Regions from separate parts of the Homo sapiens genome. Here all the other regions are linked to region 1. Evidence: promoter capture Hi-C in human tissues and cell types (Jung and others, 2019). All regions are on one chromosome and are shown on one strand. The core of a region is centred on a gene start or on the middle of the fragment in contact, and the rest is flanking DNA. Distances in the headings are between cores, read along the strand shown. Region 1 holds the start of RPS6KA4 (ribosomal protein S6 kinase A4). Region 2 has its middle 4.4 kb from the start of NAA40. Region 3 overlaps NRXN2 (neurexin 2). Region 4 overlaps NRXN2 (neurexin 2).

Region 1 (3,661 bases), core at 7-2,506:
TCAGCCTGGCGGGGCATCACTTAATGCCAGGGGTTGCCAGGAGAGGTGGGAGGGACGCTGGCTCTCTGACCAGGGCCTCTAGCCTGATGCCTGAGAGGCGGGGCAATTCGGCTGGGGTGCAGGATGTGAGTCAGGGTACCTGGGGCCACCCAGGGGAGGGTGGAGCTGCCCAGGGCTGAGATAAGGCAGCCTGAACTTGGGGGGTGCAGAGCTGGGAGGGACGGTCCGTCCGGCCTCCCAGGTGTGACCTGCAGCAGCTTGAGTTCCTCCTCCTCTCAGCCAGGGCTTCACAGGACAGGGGCGTGGGGTGGACACCCTGGCCTCTCCAGCTGGCAGAGGAGCTGAGAGCCCCTCCCACCGGCCTCAGGGTGTGGGGCCTCATGGCTGTCCCACTCTGCTAGGTGGCCCCATTGGTGGTCAGGAAGGGAAAGGCAGGAAGAAGACGGAGCAGGGGCTCAGGAGGACCAGTCAGCAGGGGCCCTGGGCCTCATGGGGAGAGGGGGCAGCCCCGTGTGGCACTGACATCTCTTCTTGAGGCCTGCTCAGGGCTCTAAGCTGGGTACTGCACCAGGCTAGGAGACAACAGGAGCAGAACACGTGAGGTGCGCATGGCACCTGGTGGGCTCTGCACGGTGACTGGGGGCTGAAGTGCTTCTGCAGGCACCCCCGACAGAAAGCTGGTCAGAAAACTGGCCACTCCTCTCCTTGCCATGGGGTCCCAGGCCGGGCTCCAGCCCCCTCTTGGTGATGAGGCTCCTCCTTGCAAAGGCCAGTCCTCTGGGGAGAGGGGCCCTGCTGGCCACCCCCAGGACGATGGAGTGGGGTGGGCTCCACTGCCTGAGAGTTGGGTGACTTCCAGGATCCAGACCCCCTCTCAGCCTGCCCAGCACCAGGCACCTCGTCCCCCACCTTGGGGCACAGACTCCTAATGTCCTCCAGCCACTGGCTGCAGCCGGCATTCCCGGGCAGATTCCTGGCTTGGGGACTAATGCCCCAGAGGCTCCAGGTTACCCACGGGCTCAGGGATGGCTCCCACGGGGTGTTTCCAGTTCCCGGGAGAGTCGAGTAAGGTCCCGGAGCGCACGGCCCTGAGGCCTGGCCTGGGGGCTCGGGAGACAGGGCGGCCCCAGCCGGCCGCCCACCGGCAGCCCGGCGCTGTCACGTTCCAGCCGCCTGACTCAGGCCGCGCAGGGCGGGGAGCCGGGAGGCGGTGCCGGCGCCCGCCTCGGCCCCGGAGGCGGCACCAGGAAGCGCCCGCCCCGGCCGGAGCCGCCATGTAACCGGCGCCGCCCGGAGCCCGAGCCGCGCGGGCCCCAGCGACCCGCCCGCCATGGGGGACGAGGACGACGATGAGAGCTGCGCCGTGGAGCTGCGGATCACAGAAGGTGGGTGTGGGGCCTGACTGCGGCTGCCCGGGGCAGGCCGGGACGGGTCATGGACCGGCTGGGCTCATTCGCCCCCTGTGCCCACAGCCAACCTGACCGGGCACGAGGAGAAGGTGAGCGTGGAGAACTTCGAGCTGCTCAAGGTGCTGGGCACGGGAGGTGAGGACCCCCATCCACCGGGCAGGCGTCCCAGGCGCGGTGCCCCTGACCTCCTGCCTGCTCACTCTTGGGCCTGGGCCAGGCCACTGAGCAGGCCCCCCACCCTTTCCCGGCACAGCCTGCCTTGCCTGCCCCGCCCTGCCTCGCCAGAGTTTGCATGCCCACTTCCAGGGCACTCCACATTGACATCACTCCTCCCTCCACGGTCCTGTGCGTGCATACCCCCCTGGATTTGCCAACACCCTGGGGAGGGGGACTGGCGCCCCTCTCAAGTGATTTGCATAGCTCCTCCCTTTCTTCCAATATGGGATCCCCCTCCCACATTTTGCAAATGCCCCAGCGCTGGTTTGCGCATCCCTTCCCCAGCCAGGTGCACACCTCTGCCTCCCTTCCTTGCACTGGCATCTTTTCACATCCATCTGATCTCTCGCAGGTTTGCATATGCCCCGCCCCCATGCCTCGCAGCAGGCCCCCTGGAGATGCATGCTCCCCAGCCTGGTTTGCACATCCTTTCCCTGGTTTTGCTGGGCACCCTCCCGGGGTGTGCACACCCTTTCCTTAGAAGGCTCTGCCAGCTTTTTGCACACCTGCCTGTTGCCCCAGCTCCTTCGCCTCATTTGCACACCCTCCTGGGTTGGCATCGCCCCCACCCCCCAAGCCTGCACCAATCTCCCGCTCACAGCCCACCCTCCACCCACTCGCTGCTCCCACAGCCTACGGCAAGGTGTTCCTGGTGCGGAAGGCGGGCGGGCACGACGCGGGGAAGCTGTACGCCATGAAGGTGCTGCGCAAGGCGGCGCTGGTGCAGCGCGCCAAGACGCAAGAGCACACGCGCACCGAGCGCTCGGTGCTGGAGCTGGTGCGCCAGGCGCCCTTCCTGGTCACGCTGCACTACGCTTTCCAGACGGATGCCAAGCTGCACCTCATCCTGGGTGAGCGCACACCACATCCCAACGGGGTTGGGGTGGCTGGGGGCAGGCGAGGCCACCTGACGGGGCTGCTTCCTGACTTCCACTGCACCTCCCAGACTATGTGAGCGGCGGGGAGATGTTCACCCACCTCTACCAGCGCCAGTACTTCAAGGAGGCTGAGGTGCGCGTGTATGGGGGTGAGATCGTGCTGGCCCTGGAACACCTGCACAAGGTGGGTGAAGACCTGGCCGCAGGCTGTTGCTATGGAAACTGGGTCTGTGCCTTGGAAGGAATCTGCACGCAGGGCAGCCTCAGGCTTCCCCCTGGGCTTCCTGGGGGGCCAGTGGTGAGCTGGGTGGGAATTGGAGCTGCTTCCCCTGGACCCCTTGCAGGAAGCCTCAACGTTGCCTGGTGGGGTCCCCTCCCCTGGCACCTCCTCGAAGGGGCTTTCCTCTTTCAGGGAACTCGGGGCTGCGTTCACAGAACTTCCTCAAATGGAAACCTCACGGCCTGGCTCCTAAGGCCTCCTTGAAATGGAGCTCTTCACACAGACTTTCCTCTCTCTGGGACCTTGGGGCCTGATCCACGGGGCCCTCCTTCTTTGTTTTATATCTTAAATGGCCTTTCTTATTCAGTGGCTCTGCCCTGGAGACCCCCTCTACAGGCAGATGACTTTCTCTGGGGGGTCTCCTTATCCTGAGCAGGGCCAGGAGCTGGAGGAGCTGGGGAGGGTTTCGGGGAGGAAGCCTCAGCACCCCTCTTGCTCCTACCAGCTCGGCATCATTTACCGAGACCTGAAACTGGAGAATGTGCTGCTGGACTCCGAGGGCCACATTGTCCTCACGGACTTCGGGCTGAGCAAGGAGTTCCTGACGGAGGAGGTGAGTGGAGGCCACCTCTGCCTGCAGTGCCCCATTCAATCCTTCTCCTTCCTGCCTCTTCCTGCTCTGGGCCTGCATTCTGGGGCTGCAGAAGTGAATAGCTCCAAGAAGTTTCCACAGCTCAGCTCTCCAACCTCACAAGTTGAGCGAGTCTTACTCTGGGCCTTGTGGGGCACTGGGGCACAGGAGAGGTTTCGACATCTAAGCAGGACCTCTTGCCCTCCCAGAAAGAGCGGACCTTCTCCTTCTGTGGCACCATCGAGTACATGGCCCCCGAAATCATCCGTAGCAAGACGGGGCATGGCAAGGTAGGTTGGCAGGGAAG
Region 2 (3,535 bases), core at 402-2,901, 420 kb before region 1:
GCAACCTCTGCCTTTTGGGTTCAAGCGATTCTCCTGCTTCAGCCTCCTGAGTAGCTGGGACTATAGGCACCTGCCACCAGGCCCAGCTACTTTTTGTATTTTTAGTAGAGATGGGATTTCACCATATTGGCCAGGCTAGTCTCGAATCCACCCTTGTGATCCACCAGCCTCGGCGTCCCAAAGTGCTGAGATTACGGGCATGAGCCACTGCGCCTGGCCTAACTTTTATACTTTTGGTAGAGACGGGGTTTCACCATGTTGCCCAGGCTGGTCTCAAACTCCTGGCCTCAGGCAATCCACCTTCCTCAGCCTCCCAAAGTGCTGGGATTACAGGTGTGAGCCACCGCGTCTGGCCACTTTGATATACTTTTGTATGGGTGTATGGGGTTCCATTCCTGCCCCAGGCCTTGCCATCCATCCCATCTTATTTAATTCTCACAACCACCCCTAGAAGAAGATTTTACTGAAGATGAAGATGATTGCTACTGGTGGTCTCACTTTACAAATAAGGAAACTGAGTCTCAGAGATAGTAGGCAGCTTGCCTAAAGTCACAAGGCCAACAAGTAGCAGAAAGGAGATTTAAACACAGGTTGGTCCAACTCCAGAGCAGGCTCTGTCCACCACCCCACAAGAACAAGGAAGCCCTGAGCAGGAGAGATGGCCCATAATCAGGGCAGGCCTCAGACAGAAGGATGCTGCCTTGGGGCAGAAATAGGGCACTGGGCCTTTTCGGGCCTCTTGGGTGGCCTGGATGATGTCACCTCCCCCAAGGACTACTGGGCTCACCTCCCAGGCCTTGCCTGGTTTCCAGCAAATTCCAGCAGGCTGGGGGAGCAGGGAGCAAACCCAAGAGTGGGGCATGGCAGAAGGGACAGGGCACAGGGGATGGTGGTGGCAGTCATCTGTGCACTGAAACAGCTGACCATGAAGTTCCCTGTAGGTAAGGAGACCAGAAAAACCAAAACACAGTGGGGACTGTGCCGAGGTGGGGGTGGAGTCTCATCCCTCACCTTATCCACTCCCTCACACCGCCCTGGCTCTGCAAATCCTTTTCTGTCAGTTGAAATTTCCTTGCCTAGGCTGGGTGCGGTGGCTCACGCCTGTAATCCCAACACTTTGGGAGGCTGTGGTGGGTGGATCATGAGGTCAGGAGTTCGAGACCAGCCTGACCAATATGGTGAAACCCTGTCTCTACTAAAGATACAAAAATTAGCCAGACACAGTGGCACATGCCTATAGTCCCAGCTACTCAGGAGGCTGAGGCAGGATAATCGCTGAACCCGGGAGGGGAGGTTGCAGTGAGCCGATATTGCACCACTGCACTCCAGCCTGGGCATCAGAGCGAGACTCCGTCTCAAAAAAGACAAGACAAGAAAAGAAATTTCTAGGCCGGGCGTGGTGGCTCATGCCTGTAATCCCAGCACTTTGGGAGGCTGAGGCGGGTGGATCACGAGATCAGGAGTTCAATACCAGCCTGGCCAAGATGGTGAAACCCTGTCTCTACTAAAAATACAAAAACATTAGCCAGGCATGGTGGCGGGTGCCTGTAATCCCAGCTACTGGGAAGGCTGAGGCAGAGAATTGCTTGAACCCAGGAGACGGAGGTTGCAGTGAGCCAAGATTGTGCCACTGCACTGCACTCCAGCCTGGCGACAGAGCGAGACTCTGTCTCAAAAAAAAAAAAAAAAAAAGAAATTTCCTTGCCTCCTCTTCCTTCTTCAAAGATAAGCTTGGATATCCCTTCTTCCCAGCTGGCTACCCTCCTCCCACTCTCAGCTCCCTCTCCTGGTCCCTAGAGGGCTGGCAACCACAACAAATTTCCTGACCACACAATAGGGCTGTCAGGCCAAAGATTCACTCATTCCAGTCTAACTGCATTCCCTCCACGGCCTCATCCAGTCTCACAGCTTTTTTTTTTCTTTTTGTGGTAGAGACAGGGTCTCGCTATGTTGCACAAGCTGGTCTTGAGCTCCTGAGCTCAAGGGACCCGTCTACCTCAGCCTCCCAAAGTGCTGGGATTACAGGCGTGAGCCACCACACTCGGCCTCAGTCTCACAGTTTTATTAATTTATTTATTTTAAAAAATCAAATTTGATTTTGTCTTTTCTATTTATTTTATTATTATTATTATTATTGAGAGGGAGTCTCGTTCTGTTACCCAGGCTGAAGTGCAGTGGCGCAGTCTCAGCTCACTGCAACCTCCGCCTCCTGGGTTCAAGCGATTCTTCTGCCTCAGTCTCCCGAGTAGCTGAGATTACAGGTGCCTGCCACCATGGCCAGCTAAGGTTTTTTTGTACTTTAGTAGAGACGGGGTTTTACCATGTTGGTCAGACTGGTTTCAAACTCCTGACCTCAAACGATCTGTCTGCCTCAGCCTCCCTAAGTGTTGGGATTACAGGCGTGAGCCACCATGCCCGGCCAGTCTCACAGCTTTAAATATTATCTATTCACCGACTGTGCTGAAATTGTTATCTCCAGCGTGGACCCCTCTCCTGAGTTCAACTCTGACTACCCCACGTCTCCACCAGAACGTCTAAAAAGCACTCAGACCTGATGTGGCCAAAACAGAATCCTGATCTTCCCTATACTCAAGCCAGCTCCTTTCAAAGTCATCCACATCTCAATTGAAGCCACTCCATTTTTCTAGCAGCTCAGGCTAAGTAGCTTGGCTCTGATCCTTCCCTCACACCCCACACCAAATCTGCAAGTCCTGTAGGCTCTACCTTCAATGCCCTTCTCCCACCTCTGCCGCTGCTCAACCGTGGAGGCTTCATCTGTTGCCTTGATTATAGCAGTGGCCTCTGGACACTGTCCTTCTTTTTTTTTTTTTTTTTTTTTTTGAGACAGAGTCTTGCTCTGTCGCCCAGACTGGAGTGCAGTGGCCTGATCTCGGCTCACTGCAAACTTCGCCTCCCATGTTCAAGCAATTCTCCTGCCTCAGCCTCTCGAGTAGCTGGGATTATAGGCACCTGCCATCACGCCTGGCTAGTTTTTGTATTTTTAGTGGAGATGGGGTTTCACTATGTTGGCCAGGCTGGTCTCAAACTCCTGACCTCAAGTGATCTGCCTGTCTCAGCCTCCCAAAGTGCAGGGATTACAGGCATGAGCCACCACCTTGCCCAGCCTGGACTGTCCTTCCTTTGACCTTGTCCCTACATTCTCATCTCAACCCAGAAGCCAGGGTGGTTCTAGGACCTCCTCTGCCTGCAATGCCCTTTCCCCAGACGTCCTCATTACTTGCTCCCTCACCTTCAGATCTTGACTCAAGTATCACCTCATGTTTGCCTTTCCTGAGCATCCTAGTTAAAACTATAAATCTCTCTCTTTTTTTTTTTTTTGAGATGGAGTTTCATTCTTGTTGCCCAGGCTGGAGTACGACGGTACAATCTTGGCTCACTGCAACCTTTGACTCCCCACTTCAAGTGATTCTCCTGCTTCAGCCTCCCGAGTAGCTGGGATTACAGGCATGTGCCACCACACCCAGCTAATTTTGTATTTTTAGTAGAGACAGGGTTTCTCCATGTTGGTCAGGCT
Region 3 (3,221 bases), core at 264-2,763, 300 kb after region 1:
GCCCGCTGGGACATGAAACGCAGGGACACATCCTCTGCCTCCGTGTGCATGGCGTTAGGCAGCATGATCTTCATGTACATGGAGCCATCGTAGCTCAGGACCGTGGCCTCTGCCCACAGGAGTTGGGGAAGAGGGAAGGAGAAGACAGGCAGAGGCCAGGGGAGGGAGAAGACCAGAGAATCATTACAAGGGCGAAAAGCCTAGGGCAGGTCTATGAGGGGTTCCCCTAGGAGGAGGTGGCACAGGGATGGAAAGTAGGAGTCACCCTGAGAAGGAGGAGCACAGGGATAGGGAGCAGGGACACCTAGGATGAAGACCAGCCTCACCTCTCTCACAGACCCGCCCAAGAAAGCCGGTCCCGATGCAGTCACAGATGAAGCGGTTCCAGCCTTCTCGACAGACGCCCCCATTGCGACAGGGGGCAGATGCACACTGCTTCAGCGTCTCCCGGGAGCAAAAGGGGGCAACGCCCACAGCCCCCTGAGCCTCAGCCAGGCCCCGGAGGTCTCGGCTACGCCCATCTATGAAGAGGTCCCGCACACAGCCCACGTAGCCTGCCCGGAGTGCTGCTGTCCACACCTCTGGGGGCAGGGGCAGGTCCACCCGGCCCCCCTCAGGGAGACCGCCCAGGTACAGCTCACTCTCCAGGTCCAGAATCTCGCTGTCTCCAGTGGCCAAGAACGGCGTGCTGCGACTATTCACTGAGATGGAGCCTGGGAATCAAGGGAAGGCAGGATGGAGAAAAGCCACAGGCCAGAAAGGGACATCCTGACTCTGCCAAGAAGGCCCCCCACCTTGTGTGGGCCCCTCCACCTTGTGCCCTGCAGCAGGCTCAGGAGGACGAGCAGCAGTCCTGGGCTGGAAGCTCGGCCTCACTCACTGCAAAAACTGCTTGACAAAGGCCCCCAGGCTCAGAGGCTTCTGTGACGCAGCCCCAGCCCAGCTGCAGAATGCTGTGGGCCTCTGTCCATACCCCTCCTCCCCACCTCAGCAAGTCCTCAGAGGATAGGCAGGAAGTGGGCATGCCGAAATCTTGAGCTCGGAAAGGGTTGGATCATTCACTGGGTCATTCCTGCCAGCCAGTTCCTTAGACTGGGAACCGGAAGCAGAGAACCTCAAGGAACAGAAGGGGCTGAAAGATCTTTAATCCAAAGGAGTTTTTTCCCCCCACAAACATTTATTGAGCTTTTATGACTAGATGCCAGGCACCTAGCACTTTAAATATATTATATCACTTAAGTCTCATAATAACTCTACGAAATCAGTCCTTTATGATCCCATTTTGAAATGGTAGACGAGGCTTGCAGAGACTGGGGAACAGTGCCAAAGCGCCACAGTGGGGAAGGAACACAGCCAAAGTATGGTCCCAGCAGCAAGAACTCAGAGCCTGCACTCTCCACCCCTCAGCCAAGAGCCCACTCTGCGGCCAGCAAGGTGCACAAGCAGATTGGCTCCAGGGCCTGCGGGGCAGGACAGCAGTGAGGAGAAAGGAGGTAGGCACAGAATTTTTAGGTAGAAGAGTTCTTCAGAAGTAGAGGGTGCTTGGCCGGGCATGGTGGTTCACGCCTGTAATCCCAGCACTTTGGGAGGCCGAGGCGGATGGATCACTTGAGGTCAGGAGTTCAAGACCAGTCTGGCCAACATGGTGAAACTCCATCTCTACTAAAAAAAAAAAAAAAAAATTAGCCGGGTGTGTTGGCACAAACCTGTAGTCCCAGCTACTCGGGAGACTAAGGCAGGAGAATCACTTGAACCCGGGAGGCAGAGGCTGCAGTGAGCCAAGATCATGCCACTGCACTCCAGCCTGGGAGACACAGCGAGACTCCATCTCAAAAAAGAAGAAGAGAAGAAGGGAGAAGAAGGAGAAGAAGAAAAGGAAGAGGAGGAGGAGGAGGAAGGAGGAGGAGGTGATTATCTTAGAAAAAAGACTTGGGATCTGGTAGGAGTTCCATAGCCTTTACTGAGACCTTAAGCTGCAGAAACCTATACCTTAGAAATTTTATTCTACTTGTATTTTTAAATTCCTTCCTCTGTCCTTTTTCAAGTTTGGAAGAACTGTTTAAAAGGGGTCGGGGCCGGGCACAGTGGCCCACGCCTGTAATCCCAGCACTTTGGGAGGCCGAGGCGGGTGGATCACAAGGTCAGGAGATCGAGACCATCCTGGCTAACACGGTGAAACCCTGTCTCTACTAACAAAGACAAAAAATTAGCTGGGCGTGGTGGCGGGCGCCTGTAGTCCCAGATACTCAGGAGGCTAAGGCAGGAGAATGGTGTGAACCCGGGAGGCAGAGCTTGCAGTGAGCCAAGATCGTGCCACTGCACTCCAGTCTGGGCGACAGAGCGAGATTCTGTCTCAAAAAAAAAAATAAATAAATAAATAAAAGGGGTCAGGGTGGGAGTTGAGTTCAATCTCTCTCCTCACGCAAGACCCCATTGCAGACATCCTAGTTAGAAAAAAAAAAGACTCTGCCTAACTTCATGGGGTTAAAGAGAGGTTAAGGAGGGTTTGGGTCTGCATGAGGCCTGAATTTGGCAGGGAGCTTTGGGAGGAGAATCAATGTGAGCACAGGGTGGGAACCCAAGAGGGAAGAACTGGGACCTCCTCTACAGACACATCCCCTCATTCAGGACGTGTTCCTCTCTGCTCAAAACCTCACCTGAGGCCGGGCGCAATGGCTCACACGTGTAATCCCAGCACTTTGGGAGGCTGAGGCAGGAGGATCGCCTGAGGTCAGGAGTTTGAGACCAGCCTGGCCAACATGGTGAAACCCCATCTCTACTAAAAATACAAAAATTAGCCGGGCATGGTGGGCATCTGCAATCCCAGCTACTCAAGAGGCTGAGGCAAAAGAATCGCTTAAACCTGGGAGGCAGAGGTTGCAGTGAGCTGAGATCATGCCACTACACTCCAGCCTGGCAGCCTGGGCGACAAGAGCAAAACTCTGACTCAAAAAAAAAAAAAAAACCTCACCTGAACCAGAGCTGTGCCCTCTTTTAGTAACATGGTCCCTAGCTTTTCTCTCCATACAAGGTGTCAGATGACCCATGGTCCTGACTCTAAACCCACTTCCCAGGGCTGGGGGCCCACTCCCCTAACAGGCCACCAAACATGGCCTGCCTGATTACCCACACCTCTATTTATAGCCAGATTCCCCCATGCCTGCTCTGCCCACCCACTGCAGGACCTCCTGGGCTTTACACGACTCAACCAGACTCTCTAC
Region 4 (3,226 bases), core at 662-3,161, 350 kb after region 1:
ATGCCTTTCATAAACCTATTACTGATCCCCTCAACTTGGAAACTCTCCCCTGCACTTTGCTTGTAAGAGTAACTACCATTTACTCATCACTAATTTTATACAGCAGATGCTAATTTAATTCTTACAACAAACCTATGAGATAAGCATGTGTATCCCCATTTTTTTTTTTTTTTTTGAGACAGAGTCTTGCTGTGTCAGCCAGGTTGGAGTGCAGTGGCGCGATCTCAGCTCACTGCGACCTCCACCTCCTGGGTTCAAGTGCCCAGCCATGTATCACCATTTTATACATAAAGAAAAATGGGTCAGGTGCGGTGGCTCACACCTGTAATCCCAGCACTTTGGGAGGCCAAGGTGGGCGGATCATGAGGTGGGTGGATCACGAGGTCAGGAGATCGAGACCATCCTGGCTAACATGGTGAAACCCCGTCTCTACTAAAAATACATTAGCCAGGTGTGGTGGCGGGCGCCTGTAGTCCCAGCTACTCAGGAGGACGAGGCAGGAGAATGGCGTGAACCCGGGAGGCAGAGCTTGCAGTGAGGCAAGATCACGCCACTGTACTCCAGCCTTGGAGACAGCGAGACTCCGTCTCAAAAAAAAAAAAAAAGAAAAATGAGTCTAAAGGTTAGGTACTCACCTAATGTCATGGGCCTAGGGAGTAGAGAAGACAGATTTAAACCCAGACCAGAGCCACAGAAGTCTGTGGTTTAATCACTAAGCCACACTGCTTTACTGCATCTCTGGGCCACACACTATTGTGCTGTTTTTTTGCTACTATGTATTGAGCATTTTCTATGTACCAGGCACTGTTCTAAGCACTTTACATGAACTAGCTAATTTAATTTTCACAACAACTCTATAAAGTAGGTACCATTATTATCTTCATTTATAGATAAGGAAATGGGGGCAAAGAGAGTTTAAGTATAAAGTCACTGCCTGGGCAGTCTGGAGGCAGAATCTCTTAACAACACACTGGACAGCTTTTTTATCTGCTTCCTCAATTTAATAGTCAACTCCCAGACTGGGTGTGGTGGCTTACACCTGTAATCCCAACACTTTGGGAGGCCAAGGCAGGCGGATCACCTGAGGTCAGGAGTTCAAGACCAGCCTGACCAACATGGAGAAACCCCATCTCTACTAAAAATACAAAATTAGCCAGGCGTGGTGGTGCATGCCTATAATCCCAGCTACTATGGAGGCTGAGGCAGGAGAATCACTTTGCTTGAACCCGGAAGGCAGAGGTTGTGGTGAGCCAAGATTGTGCCATTGCACTCCAGCCTGGGCAACAGGAGCGAAACTCCGTCTCAAAAAAAAAAAAAAAGTCAACTCCCAGAGCACAGAGTCATCTTATTCATCTCTGACCACACTGTAGCCCCCAACACACAGCCTAGCACAAAAGAGGCCTTGGCAACTACCTGTTGAATTAAATCACTATCACAAAACACATGAGACACGTGTGTCTACCTCCCTGCAAGCACACACATTACGACTAGTTTCCTATTTTTCTCCTGAGCAAATAGTATACACCTGACACTCTGTCCTGAACACCTGCATCATCACTCCACCTGAGGTCTCACACACATGCCTGCACATCCCTTCTTCTTTAATCCCTTTTTAGCCCCTTCTCCACACACACAGGTGACATGAGGAAGCACTGTCATGCAAACCACTGCAAGATCCCAGTCTACTCTATCCCAGCTTTGGCAGATAATCAGCAACGGTAGACAGACTCAGCCACTCCCACTGAGCTCTGTCTTCAATTACGTGTGGCCAGATCTCTGAGAGAGAGAGAGAAAATGCAAATTTCCTAGCATGGAGGTTCTCCGTCAATGAGTAAGCCCAGACCCTGGGAGAGCAGGAGGGATTCCAAAGGATACACAAATTCGTATGCACACCAAACATCTGAAGGCAGATTGAAACATCTTGCATATAAAGCTAAAACCATTTTTCTAATGTATATTTTATTAACCACAATGGCAAATATAATATCAAAGTCATCTAAAAGCTTTTCCAAATTCACAGTGGCTTTGAGTCATTTATACTCACACTAAACAGATATAAAAATAATAACTGGAAGGGGTACTGTGAATTACTGACTTTTAAAAATGTCCTCAGTTGGCCAGGCGCAGTGGCTCACACCTGTAATCCCAGCACTTTGAGAGGCCAATGCGGGCGGATCACTTGAGGCCGGGAGTTCGAGACCAGCCTGACCAACATGGTGAAAACCCGTCTCTACTAAAAATACAAAAATTAGCTGGACATAGTGGCGGGCGCCTGTAATCCCAGCTACTCAGGAGGCTGAGGCAGGAGAATCGCTTGAGCCCAGGAGGTGGAGATTGCAGTGAGCTGAGATCGTGCCATCGCACTCCAGCCTAGGCACAGAGCGAGACTCCATCTCAAAAAAAAAAAAAAAAAAAAAAAGTCCTCAGTCTCAGAAAGAGTTGGGAACCATTCACAACAGATGATAAAGTGATTATAACTCCAAGGAAGCCTGGGGATTCTGACCCCTAGAGTTGTGTCAGAGAGCAGGAGCCAGGCCTGCTCCCCTTAAAGTCTTCCTTCCTCACCCCAATACCCAACCATGGGAGCCCATGCCTTTCCTCCTTGACTGGATGAGAAAGTACTCGAAGTATAATGAGCACAAGATATTATAAAAGCTACCTAGGAAATAAGGAACAAATAGAAGAAGAAATGAGGTTGCAGAGTGGGGAGAGAAAAGAAGGGAATCAGTAGGGTTATTGCTGTGCCTGTCATCTCCAGATGCAATCAGTGCCTACAACCCCCATGCCCACCCACAACATATATCTGAAAATATATACATACATGTTTTCATATGTACATACAGCTTTGCCTCAAGCCTTTATTCTCTCAATTACTTATTAATATCTCTCCATTCATTCCACAAATCTTTATCAAACACCCACTAAGTGCCTGGTACCAGATTAGGTGCTGGGAATACAGAAATGAATAAAGACACAACCCTCCCCCTTTACCACAAAGCACTGCTCTCTCAACAGATACCACACACACATCACACACACTCCACATATACACAAGCAACCCTGCCCCTACCAGCTGGCGCCCGCCTTATATCTCACTTTCCCTTTTCTTCTTCCTTTTTTTTTTTTTTTTTGAGATGGAGTCTCACTTTGTCACCCAGGCTGGAGTGCAGTGGTGCCATCTCAGCTCACTGCAACCTACACCTCCCAGGTTCAAGCAATTCTCCTG

Evidence for each region. The method cuts DNA at HindIII sites, captures the fragments that hold promoters and counts their contacts. A contact is called where the count stands out against the background at its distance.
Region 2: a fragment that was not itself captured here is called in contact with the fragment with the promoter of RPS6KA4 in region 1 in 3 of the 25 tissues and cell types used here (adrenal gland, pancreas and spleen).
Region 3: a fragment that was not itself captured here is called in contact with the fragment with the promoter of RPS6KA4 in region 1 in 1 of the 25 tissues and cell types used here (dorsolateral prefrontal cortex).
Region 4: a contact is called between a fragment that was not itself captured here and the fragment with the promoter of RPS6KA4 in region 1, in 5 of the 25 tissues and cell types used here (IMR-90 fibroblasts, dorsolateral prefrontal cortex, hippocampus and 2 more).

The regions. Positions count from the first base shown.
Region 1 is chr11:64,357,906-64,361,566 of GRCh38, forward strand. RPS6KA4 (ribosomal protein S6 kinase A4) reads left to right here and starts at 1,257. Exons shown (of 17, transcript NM_003942.3): 1 at 1,257-1,385; 2 at 1,473-1,544; 3 at 2,258-2,476; 4 at 2,572-2,687; 5 at 3,229-3,336; 6 at 3,564-3,644. The coding sequence starts at 1,331. RefSeq lists a silencer at 1,043-1,532 and enhancers at 1,282-1,809, 2,543-2,652. The HindIII fragment of the contact is 21,233 bases long and covers 1-3,661 here.
Region 2 is chr11:63,932,876-63,936,410 of GRCh38, forward strand. No RefSeq gene overlaps it. Among named protein-coding and RNA genes, the nearest start is that of NAA40, 4.4 kb to the right of the region's middle. The HindIII fragment of the contact is 5,818 bases long and covers 1-3,535 here.
Region 3 is chr11:64,660,427-64,663,647 of GRCh38, forward strand. It overlaps NRXN2 (neurexin 2), which reads right to left. Exons shown (of 23, transcript NM_015080.4): 10 at 327-713; 11 at 1-109. Among named protein-coding and RNA genes, the nearest start is that of NRXN2-AS1, 18 kb to the left of the region's middle. RefSeq lists an enhancer at 1-262. The HindIII fragment of the contact is 5,556 bases long and covers 1-3,221 here.
Region 4 is chr11:64,706,795-64,710,020 of GRCh38, forward strand. The region is part of intron 2 of NRXN2 (neurexin 2); the gene reads right to left. Among named protein-coding and RNA genes, the nearest start is that of NRXN2, 15 kb to the right of the region's middle. The HindIII fragment of the contact is 7,389 bases long and covers 1-3,226 here.